Regions from separate parts of the Homo sapiens genome. Here regions 1 and 2 are each linked to region 3. The links are contacts of gene promoters, found by promoter capture Hi-C in blood cells and fetal thymus (Javierre and others, 2016). All regions are on one chromosome and are shown on one strand. The core of a region is centred on a gene start or on the middle of the fragment in contact, and the rest is flanking DNA. Distances in the headings are between cores, read along the strand shown. Region 1 overlaps LOC105372593 (a long non-coding RNA gene). Region 2 has its middle 4.3 kb from the start of BPIFA3. Region 3 holds the start of SUN5 (Sad1 and UNC84 domain containing 5).

Region 1 (3,407 bases), core at 113-2,612, 240 kb before region 3:
TCTGCTAATGGGCTGGTACCCTTGCCTGATTAGGGCAGGATGCACAGTAAATACTGCAGCACATGCTGGGAAACACTGAACTTGGTGGGGCTTGAGGTGGACATGGACTGGACAGTGCTTGATTAGGCTGTGCCTGTGAAATTCCAATCTCCGTGTTCTCAACCATTCTTTTTTTCTTTTTCCCTAAGGAGTGCACGTCTCTGGGGTAGTTTGTGGTTCAGGCTGTCATAATACCCCAGATGGGGCCCCCTAACTCTAATCTGGTGGTGATGCTTCCCCTGGGCACCTCTCTTTTATGGGACTCCACAGGGGTAGTGGATGAGACCAAAGAGTTCCAGGATGTTAGGGTCCCATTAGTGGCTCCAGGGACATCTGATCCTTCTACTCAGGTGGGCAACATTATCAGACCTGTTAAATTTGTGCAGTACATGATCTCCCTTCCTGGACTGGACAATTGAGGCTGAAAGTTCTGGGTCAAGCAGGAAGGGCAATGGGTGTCCACAGAGGTAGTCTCAGGATGGGGACACACAGCCTGGGTTGTAATACCTGGACAGCCAGCCAGCACCCCGATTAATAGACAGACACACCTCCAGCCACAAAGTATGAGAAGAGGGTAGAGGATGGGGAAACAAATCTTTCCCCTTTTTGTTTCATTAGAGTACCTAGTAGTGCCTAGATTGACAACACACTGGTGAAGATTAGCAGTGGCAGCCGTAGGTGGGGATTTGAAACATTGTGGACCTGTCACCCGTGTATTTGGAGCTTTCCCTCCAGGCATGAATAGTCCACATGTGACATATTGCCAATCTGATGGGGGCCCCAGTAGGAGAGTGACCCTCAGTGCGGGTTGAGATCCACAGGTACTGAATACCCTGTTCACAAAGCTTACCTTAAACATAGGGATATGTTCTAATGGGCTTTTCTTAGAGATTAGCAAGTTGGGCAGCATCCCATCTAAAGATTTAGAAAGGCTCCTGTGAGCTCCTGTGGGCTGAGCAGAGGTGGGTTTTATAGGTATAAAAGAAGAAGAAACAGGGGACAAAAAATAGATTGATCATCTCAAAGTTACTTTCCTTATAGGGTTAAGGAAGAGGGAACTTTCTTACCCTCTGGCTCAGGTAGACTTGGCCCCCTCTGGTTGGTTGGAAAACTGGCCTGTTACTAAAGTTTAGTTTGATTACATGATCCCATGCCTGAGTGGCTCCATTCTGGTTTGGTCTGGTCTGTTGGGCCTAGTGCAGGAGCTCAGTTCAAAACAGTGGCCTTTTCTAATTTTTATTTAACACAATTCTGCCTTAATCTTTACTCCTTACATAAACACAGCTCCCTGTAAGCACATGCCCTCCTAGAGCCCTAGGAGTATGTTGGAGATTTTCAAAGCTCATATAGATATCTTATTCCCCAGCTTTTCCTTGTCAGCTTTTTGGTTAGTTTTTTGTTTGCCCCAAATATTACATCCCCTCAGGCAGCTGTGGTGTTAAATAGTTGCCTCTGGTTATTTTTTGACAAATGTATTTGGGGAAAAGGTTGTTCAGACCAGGGGAGCTCTGCGTCAGGTCAAGTAATGACAATCATGAGAATGGGTCTTCCTGGGAAACCAATGGGCCGGTCAAACAATGACAATTCTCTGCGAATGAGTTGCTCTAACTCCCTCCTCACCTCTCCAGTGTCTACTGGGCTGCTGGTTCTCACAAAGATTGTGGGCTTTTCGTTTTCGAGTTGGCTGTGGAGCGGGAGTATGGGGAGATGGGAGAGGTTAAAATGCCACAAAGCTCTCTGTTCTTGCTGAGACTCCATAATTTGTATTGAATAAACTCTCCCCAGATTGCTACAAGCTTTGGTTAATTTCCAGAGCTCTGAAAATGTTAGTTAAGACCATTTCTGTCAGTTTTCTCATTGCTTTTACGTAGGAAAAAATTTTCAGAGACCTTTCCTTTGCCACTTTCACTGACATAATCCCAGAGAGTTTTAAAAATGTGTTTCCACTCTTTAAATAGCATAAATGTTTTTGACTAGCCTGGCCACCTGGCAGGATGTCTTGTATCCAGGGGAATTCTAGATTAGCTAATTAGAAATTGAACTTGTCAGAGAGGGGAGGACCCTTCTGTGGGCTATAGGAAGAAGTCCAGGGGAGCAGGGGGAAAATCATATCCAGAGATGGCCAGGGGATGGGTGTGAGGCAGGAACACGGTTCAGTACAATGGCCAGAGGGCAGCAGGCCCAGCACTGATGGTTCTAGATGTGTGTCCCTGGGCTCCATCCATCTCAGTTCTTGGGGCCTCAGACACAGGGAACTCTCAGTGCTGATCCAGTGCCTGCCCTGAGAGGACCTGAAGGTAGCTTATTCTTGGAGCCTCTCTAGCACGAGCAGGCCCCAGTTGCTGGCTTCCTATCTGGAAGGTCCTTCTGCATTTCCGGTCAGTGCCTAGGTGGACATTTCCAAGGCTCATTCAGCTGCTTGCTGGGAGTTAATTACTCATCTGAGCTCAGAGAACTTTTGTGGGTGTGGAATATGCTTTCTTTCTTAAATTCTCCCTGAAGACACATGATGGTGTCACACAACAAATCTCGAAGTCTGAGCTATGCAACTGTCCTTCTATGATGCCATGTTGATTGGAGGCAACAGTAGGTGGAGATAGTGGCAGGTCTGGACTTGATGATTGATGTCTGACAGGGGTTGGGGAATGGGTAGGTCCCCAGTTTAGAATCAGAGATTTGAGAAACATGAACTGGAATCTGCTCATTCTCACGAGCTCAACAAGGTCTCCAAAGAGCAAGGGACATGGTTTTCTGTAAAGTCTGGGATGTTTCCAGTCTTTCATTGGCCCTTTTGTCTCCCTGTGGCCTTGGGCAAGTCATTCACACAACCCCAAGGCCTCAGTATCTCATCTGTGTAATGAAAGGGTTGGACTAGTCCCTAAAGACCTCAACAATGAGAGTGTATGTATTTTTTATTTGAGGGGGGGTCAGAGTTCTTCAGTCTGGGTAGCCCCATTCTTTTTCCTTCTCACAGCCAGTATTTCATAAATCTTTTCTTTTCTTTCTTTTTCTTTCTTTTTTCTTTTTTTTTGAGACAGGGTCTTGCTTTGTCACCCAGACTGGAGTGCAGTGGCGTGAACATGGCTTATTTCACCCTTGACCTCCATGGCTCAAGCGATCGTCCTGCCGCAACCTCTCAAGTAGCTGGGACTACAGTCACATGTCACCATACCTGGCTAATTTTTCTTTCTCTCTATATATATATCTTTTTTTTTTTTTTTGTAGAGATGAGATCTCCCTATGTTGCCCAGGCTGATCTCAAACTCCTGAGCTCAAGCCACTCACCCACTTCGGCTTCCCAAAGTGCTAGGATTACAGGCATGAGCCACTGAGCCTGGCCTCATAAATCTTATCTGCATACACAGACT
Region 2 (3,393 bases), core at 210-2,709, 210 kb before region 3:
TATGAAATATGGCCCAGAGGTGAAGGAGGTGGGAGGTACTGTGAGAGGGCACAGGGAGGGGATACCTGGCCAATGGGGGAAAAGGGATGTCAGGAAAAAGACCTCCCTGAGGAGGTGGAGTTTCTTTAGCTGACATTCAAGGAAAAAACCCAGGGTGGCTGGGCACGCCACGCTGGTGCTCTCAGGAAGGATGGTGGTGGATTGAGGACAGCTCCTTAATGAGCAAATACTTGGAGGCTGGCGGGGCTGGCGTTTCTCCGTTGGGACCCGTTCCCTGTGTGAAGCCTGCTCTGTGGTCTATCTCATTCCGTCCTCATCCCACAAAGGTGAGGAGACAGGGACCCAGAGAAACCCAGCGGCTGCCTAAGCTCCCAGCCAGGAAGAGGCTGAGCTGGCATCCCAGTGGGCTGTCTTGCCTTCCCCAGAACTGCCTCAGACACTGTTTTCCTTGGACACTGGCGCTGTGGAACACCACTGAGCCTCACACATTAGCAGCCTCCTTCACTATTCCAAATAGCTTTCCTTAAAACAAGCTTCTTTACCTTCTTGGGGGACATTTTGAAAATGCACTGGAAGCTTTGGTTTGTCTTTTAGGAAAAAAAAAACTCACCAAGCCAAACAATGTTGCACACAGTACCAGGATTGCCATGGACCTCTTAAGGCATGCCCATGGGTTCAATGGTAAAACCCTTGCTCTCCTGGGAAACTGGCTTTCAAGGAGTTTGACTTTGAAAAAAATTCATTTATCCATCCACCCAACCATTATTTACTGTGGGCCAACTGTGTGCCAGGCACTGTGCTTGACTCTAGGGAATAACAGTCACCCTATTCCCCAGCAGCTTATCATCTGGTGAGGGAATCAGAACAAGGTGAAATAAACAAGAAACCAAATAACCATAAATTGTATTAAGGGGAAAAAGCTTACTGTAAGATTGGAAATAGCAAGGAGGCCACATTAGACCAGGATTAGGGAAGGTCTCAGGCGACATTTGAGCAGAGCCCAGGAGGAGAGGAGGAGATGGAGCCAGGCTTGAGTATAAAAATGTGGAAGGGGAGCCAGGCAGAGGGAACCATGAGGGCAAAGGCCCTCAGGTGGGAAAGAGCTCGGCAGGTTGGAGGAAGAAAGGAAGACAGTAGTGGCTGTCTATGGGGTGAGAAGTCTGTACCCATGTGCCCAGGGAGAGGGCCTGTCTCACATCCCTGGCTGCAGGAAGAGCTGTCCAGTGGGACAAGGAGGCAGGAACCTCCCTTGGCAGAACTCCGGGCCAAGCAGGCTTATGCACACCTGTGATCTCTAACGGCCAATTGGGGTGGCCACTTCCCCTCCTTGGGGCTCTAAGGAAATTCCAGGTCCCTAGCAAAAGGCAGAGGTCCCCAAACTCCAGGGAACAGCAGAGGAGGCAGAAGCATTAAATGCAGATTCCTGAATCTGATTTAGTGGGGGCTGGGGGGAGGTGCTGGGAGCTGCCTTTGGAATGAACACCCTAGAGAGATGATGCAGGGGGTTCAGTCCATACTTTGAGAGTTACTCTTCTAAGGAATGGAATTCATTATTCATCTAGTCATTCATTCATTCCATTCTTTTATATATATATAAAAGATATATATATATACACACACATATATATGTATATGTATATATATATACACACACACACACACACATATATATGTGTTTAACATACATATGCCTAACAACTGTACAGAACTAGGGGCTGGAACCTTAATCCAAAGGCGAATTTCCTTAAAATGGCAGGGGAAGAGAGAGTGGGGACCGTTTCTGAATGGCATATTGGGTTTCACAAAGGAAGAGTTGACCTTTTCTGGGTTCTGAGGGTAGCCTGGAGAGGGCAAAGGGAAAATGGAAATGCTGGAATTTCCAGGGGAGCATCACCGAATTTTGGAGGGAGAGATGGGACTTGTAAAAATGCAGATTCTTAGGTCACCTCTGATGAATTGAGTCAGGCTCTCTGAGGGGGATCCTGGGAATAAGCTTCTGGACAATTCTGATGCACACGGTGTGTGAAGATCACTTAGCTGAAATAATAACAGTGATACCAGCTAACAGTTATTGAGTGCTGACTGAGCTCCAGGGGCAAGCTAAGTGCTTTACCTGTAATGACTTATTGAATTCTCAACACAACCCTTTGCAGTAGGCACTGTTATTATTGGCCTCCTTTTGCAGAGGCACAGAAATGTTAAGTAAAATCCCCAAATCCACCCAGCTGGGGAGGGGTGGGGCTCAGATGGGAACCAGGTAGCCTGGCCTGCAGAAGGGAGCTCAGAGGAGCTGTTGCTCATTCCCCACCAACTGCTTCATCCCACACCCCATTCTGCTGCCCAACATGATCCTCAGCCCCCATTCCCCCAGGCACAAGCATTGCAAGGAGAGGCAGGAAGAATAATAAGGGCAGATGGATGTTGAGCCCTGACTCTGGAGACACTTGTCTAAGGACACACAGCTGATAATGTGGAGCTAGGATTTGAACTTGGGCTGCCTGGCTCTGATAGGCTCTACCTTGTTTCTGGATAAATTCACTTACAGCCCTTAACCTTCCCTCGCAGGGGTCTGCAAGCTTGTTCTGTCCGGCTGCATTTCCTCTTATATACTACAGAGGCCAATAAGATTCCGTGGAACACACATGGCAAATACCAACATTTTCAGTGAGTTGAACCACCAGATAGACTGAAGACTGCAGGTCTCACCATAACCATGAACACTCTGGACCACAAGGGGGCAGGAACCAACCTGTCAAGTCCCGGGGCTTACATAGCAGGAGTGTTCTCAGGAGGAAAGGAGCAAGGCAGGTCATTAAGGATAACCAGCCAGGCACAGCCTCACCTGCCCTTAAATGTCAGCCAGTAGGAAGAGGAAACCGGCATGGGTCCTTCTTTTAAAAATGCACATTCAACCTGTTTGATCATTAATTTTATTCTTCAGCCAACTTGGCTTCTCTTCTGCTTCCTGCTGCGTTTCTCAAAGGGACCAAACTTGCTTTCTCTCTTCTTCCATTTTCTGCTTTTGGATCCCAATCCCCCTTTTAGTAATTTTCTCCAACACATGTCACCCCATATTTGCTCATTTTGCTTTACCTGATCCTAAATTCTCGTGGTTGCTGGAGATAGCTGCAGCACTAAATTTCTTCACCCGGATCCTCTGGGAATTGGGGAGCTGTCTTTGGGAGAGGGATTGTGTGACTCTGAGGGTGACATTCTCCATGCTATTGTGCAGTGTGTGGCAGCTCCCAGGAGGGAGCCTTTATCAGGGAGTTGGCAGGTTTCACTAAGCCCCTCCATGTGCCAAGCAGTGAACAGGACAGATAAAAATCCAGCCCAGTGTTCAGCCCTGAGGTTGGAACAAGCTGAGGAGGCAGCACAAGAAAGCCAGTGTGA
Region 3 (3,740 bases), core at 169-2,668:
GGCATTTCAGAGTTTCCCCTTCACTGAATATTCTCAGGGGTTTTGCATTGGTGTCCTGTTGCTGCAATAATGTATTATCACAAACTTAGTGACTTAAGACACAATTTATCATGTTACCATTCTGGAGGTCTGAAGTCCCAGATGGGTCTCCCTGGGCTAAAATCAAGGAAGTATTGGCAGGGCTGTGTTCCTTGCTGGAGGCTGTAGGAGAGGAATTGTCCACCTGCCTTTTCCAGCTTCTAGAAGCTGCCCTTATTCCTTGGCTCCTGGTCCCTTCCTCCATCTTCAAAGCCAGCATGTTGGGCTGAGTGCTTCTTGTGCTGCCATCTCCCTGCCTCCCTCTTCCATTTTTAAGGACCCTTGTCATTACATTGCACCCACATGGGTAATCTAGGGTATTCTTCCCATCTCAAGATCGACTGATTAGCAACTTAAATTGCTCTTCTAGTTTTAACTCCCTTTTGCCTTGTGACTTAACATATTTACATGTTCAGGTTTTAGTGTGTGGGCCTCTTTGAGGGACCATCGTACCACTTCCCATTGGTAATTAGCCTGCAATTTTAAGCAACTGCCACCAGGGGGCAAAAGTGAATTCATTTTAGCTTTGCTATCCAAATAGTCAAGCTCCCTACAGGCAGGGTGAACAGAAAAAACTTAGCCCGACATTTCCACTCGGTTATGCTTTTATTTTCCCCAGTAAAAAAGTAGAACTTTATTTTTGGACATAGAGTCTCACTCTGTTGCCCAGGCTGGGTGCAATGGCGCGATTTCTGCTCACGGCAACCTCTGCCGCCTCCCGAGTCAAGCAATTCTCAAGCCTCGGCCTCCCGAGTAGCTGGGATTACAGGCACACACCACCACACCCAGCCAATTTTTTGTATTTTTAGTAGAGAAGGGGTTTTGCCATGTTGCCCAGACAGGTCTCAAACTCCTGAGCTCAGGCAATCCACCCGCTTCTGCCTCTCAAAGTACTAGGATTACAGGCATCAACCACCGGGCCCAACAAAAAGTAGAACTTTATTAAAGCAACAACACATGCAATGTTATTTTGTGTTATGCACAATGTCCACCAGTGAGAAGCTCAGCATTACAAAATGCATTCAGGTGCAACCTAAGAAGGTGAAAAGCCTGGGAAGCTTGGGGCAGGAAGGGATCTAGGAAACAAGGAAAAGCATGGTTGGGTTACTGGAGCTTCAGCTCTCGCCCCTGTCCAGCTTCTGAGACCCCAGCATGGCCCTTCCTGTCTTGATGCCTCAATTTCCCCATCTTAAGAAAGGAAAGTGGGTCACAATGGCTTCCTCTGGGGGAGGTTCTAGGGCCAAGCTGGAGACTAGCCCCATCCCCTGCCCCTCCACCCACCTGCTCTGTGAGGTCACAATGCCAACTGCTCCACTGATCCTGGCAGATTCCACTTGGCACTTTTCAGGGGACATTCAGAGGCATCAGCCCCTTCCTCCTCACCAGCTCCCAGAGTTCCCATCTCCATCCCCAATCCTAAAGAAGGAAATCGATGCCACGGTCCTCAAGGAGCCCTGGGGACCCAGGCGCCCTACTCGAAGATGTGGCCCACAATCCCAGACCCCGGAGGTGAGGATGGCAGCCCCTCCCTTTGCCCAGCCCTTTACAGTTTACAAAATGCTGCCCCTCCACCCTGTCCTTGGAGATGAGTGGCATTGTCAACTGTACTGTACAGAGACAGCCACCAAGACCAGAGAGGTTTGGCAGTGGTATTCCCAAAGTCTCCCAGCCAGGAAGTGGTGAAGCAGCCATCCTTCCAGCACGCATTTATTGAGCATCTACTGTGTGCCGGGAAATGCACAGAGGACGGGGAACACGGTGTGGCACCAGTCTGATGTGCTCCGTTCCCTCATGGAGCTCACGGTCTAGTGCAGGAGACTGGTATGAAAGAAGGAAACAAGTATTTCGCCATCTTTATCTGTCAGAAAGCCTCTGAATGCAGGTGACAGAAATTCCAACTTAAAATGATGCCTATCTCTGGGCACCCAAATCTGGGTGTATATCCCAAGAGAGTATACCAAACAATCCCCAAGGGTGAGAAAAGAAATAACCAGGCTAGAATGTATGTCTTTCATCCTCTTTTAATTTATATTATTCAGGAATGTTACCATAAATCTGTACATTTGGGAAGGGTAAACAATGTATTAGTACAATTGGGTGTATATATAATTTATTAATAAACCAATATAAATACTCTGAGGTGGTATAAACAAAAATGTTTAAAGACCTTTGACTTAAGAAATAAGGGAAAATTTTAAATCTCACATATCAAGAGGTCCCAAGGTGCAGGGGGCTCCGGAGTGTGTTAATTCCTCAGTTCTGCCACCCAAGACCCAGGTTCCTGTCATCATTCTGCTCTTTTAGCCCCCTCTCATGGTCACAAGATGGCCACCACAGTTTCAGGTGTCACGCAGAAATGTGGCGTCTAGGGGAAGGAGAATAAGCATCGTTTTCTGTGGGTCTCATTTAGCTAATCCTAAACCTAACTTTTCCCCCAAGTCCCTTACCTCGTAACCACCCCCCTACCTCACCCTACCTCACCCCTGCAGACTTCCTCACCCTTGAACCAATCACAGCACAGGGAATGGGAGCACGACAGCAGGCTTCGACCAATCAAAATGGCCTAAAATCACATTGGGTAGGAGCAGACAAAGGAACAAAACCAAGCTTCTGCCAACCTCGGGGACATGGCGACAACCGCCTGTGACTGCCACAGCAACCTGGGTCTTTTCCTTGATGGATACCTGGATTTGGGGTCAGCCAGACCTGGGTCTGTCCCTGAATCACAGGCTGGTGGTGTTGGGAAACCTTCTCTGTACCTCAGTTTCCCAATCTGGAACGTGGTATGCACATTCCAAGGACACTATGTTCCTCATAATTGTAAAATGCGACTATGAATCTTATCATCCCCAGGATTGCCCAGCGAGGCCGGAACACCAGCAGGATGGCAGAGGACACCTCCCCAAACATGAGTGAGCAAGGACAGGTGCCCTGGTATTTTCATGGGCAGCTGAGGGGCTGAGGCTCAGGGATGTCAAACGGGCAACCTGGGGCTACCCAGCAAGGGGCAGGGGCAGGGATGTTCGCACCAAGCTCTGGGTGCTCCCTAGGTCTCTGCAAGCACCAAATCAAGAGGCTGGCAGTGACATGACAGTCCTGTGCTCTCTGCAGATGACAACATCCTGTTGCCTGTCCGCAACAATGACCAAGCCCTAGGCCTGACTCAGTGCATGCTGGGATGTGTGTGTACGTATATACTGAATAATCACCTTCGTCATCAATATGGGTCTGGGGAGAGGGTCCAGCCTCGGCCCAGGCTGACCTGGGGGTGGCAATGCCTGCCCTGGACTGCAGGGGTGGTGGGGAGCTGCAGGTTGAACTCTGGAGTTCTACCCATCGGAGGTATCATTCCTGCCAAAGTCTTTGGTGGCTGGAGAGGGGAACTGGGAGGGAGGCTTGCTGTCTGGAGGAGGAGTTAACTGCCAACCCTCCTCTACCACCAGTCTGGCTGCTGGTTTCACCCATCCATCCACCTGTTGAGTTCATCAGTTCTCCCAGACCTTATTTCATAGGTACATCCACCCAGTCATCCCTCTTTCTGTTCATCCACCCATCCTTTCAGTCTCCCATTCTCTCATCTATCTCCTGATTCATCCACCTCCAAGCCAGACAGCCATTCCCTTCTTCCTTCTTCCATCCACCCCTGTGTCCTCTCACCTTCC

What was found. The method cuts DNA at HindIII sites, captures the fragments that hold promoters and counts their contacts. A CHiCAGO score of 5 or more calls a contact.
Region 1: a fragment that was not itself captured here is called in contact with the fragment with the promoter of SUN5 in region 3 in 1 of 17 cell types (endothelial precursors); the score reaches 6.8 in endothelial precursors.
Region 2: a contact is called between a fragment that was not itself captured here and the fragment with the promoter of SUN5 in region 3, in 1 of 17 cell types (M1 macrophages). The highest score is 5.2, in M1 macrophages.

What each region holds. Positions count from the first base shown.
Region 1 is chr20:33,245,121-33,248,527 of GRCh38, reverse strand. The region is part of intron 1 of LOC105372593 (a long non-coding RNA gene); the gene reads left to right. Among named protein-coding and RNA genes, the nearest start is that of BPIFA1, 11 kb to the right of the region's middle. The HindIII fragment of the contact is 951 bases long and covers 887-1,837 here.
Region 2 is chr20:33,211,355-33,214,747 of GRCh38, reverse strand. No RefSeq gene overlaps it. Among named protein-coding and RNA genes, the nearest start is that of BPIFA3, 4.3 kb to the left of the region's middle. The HindIII fragment of the contact is 1,073 bases long and covers 923-1,995 here.
Region 3 is chr20:33,002,111-33,005,850 of GRCh38, reverse strand. It overlaps SUN5 (Sad1 and UNC84 domain containing 5), which reads left to right and starts at 1,418. Exons shown (of 13, transcript NM_080675.4): 1 at 1,418-1,587; 2 at 2,932-2,990; 3 at 3,190-3,264. The coding sequence starts at 1,511. The HindIII fragment of the contact is 1,549 bases long and covers 1,139-2,687 here.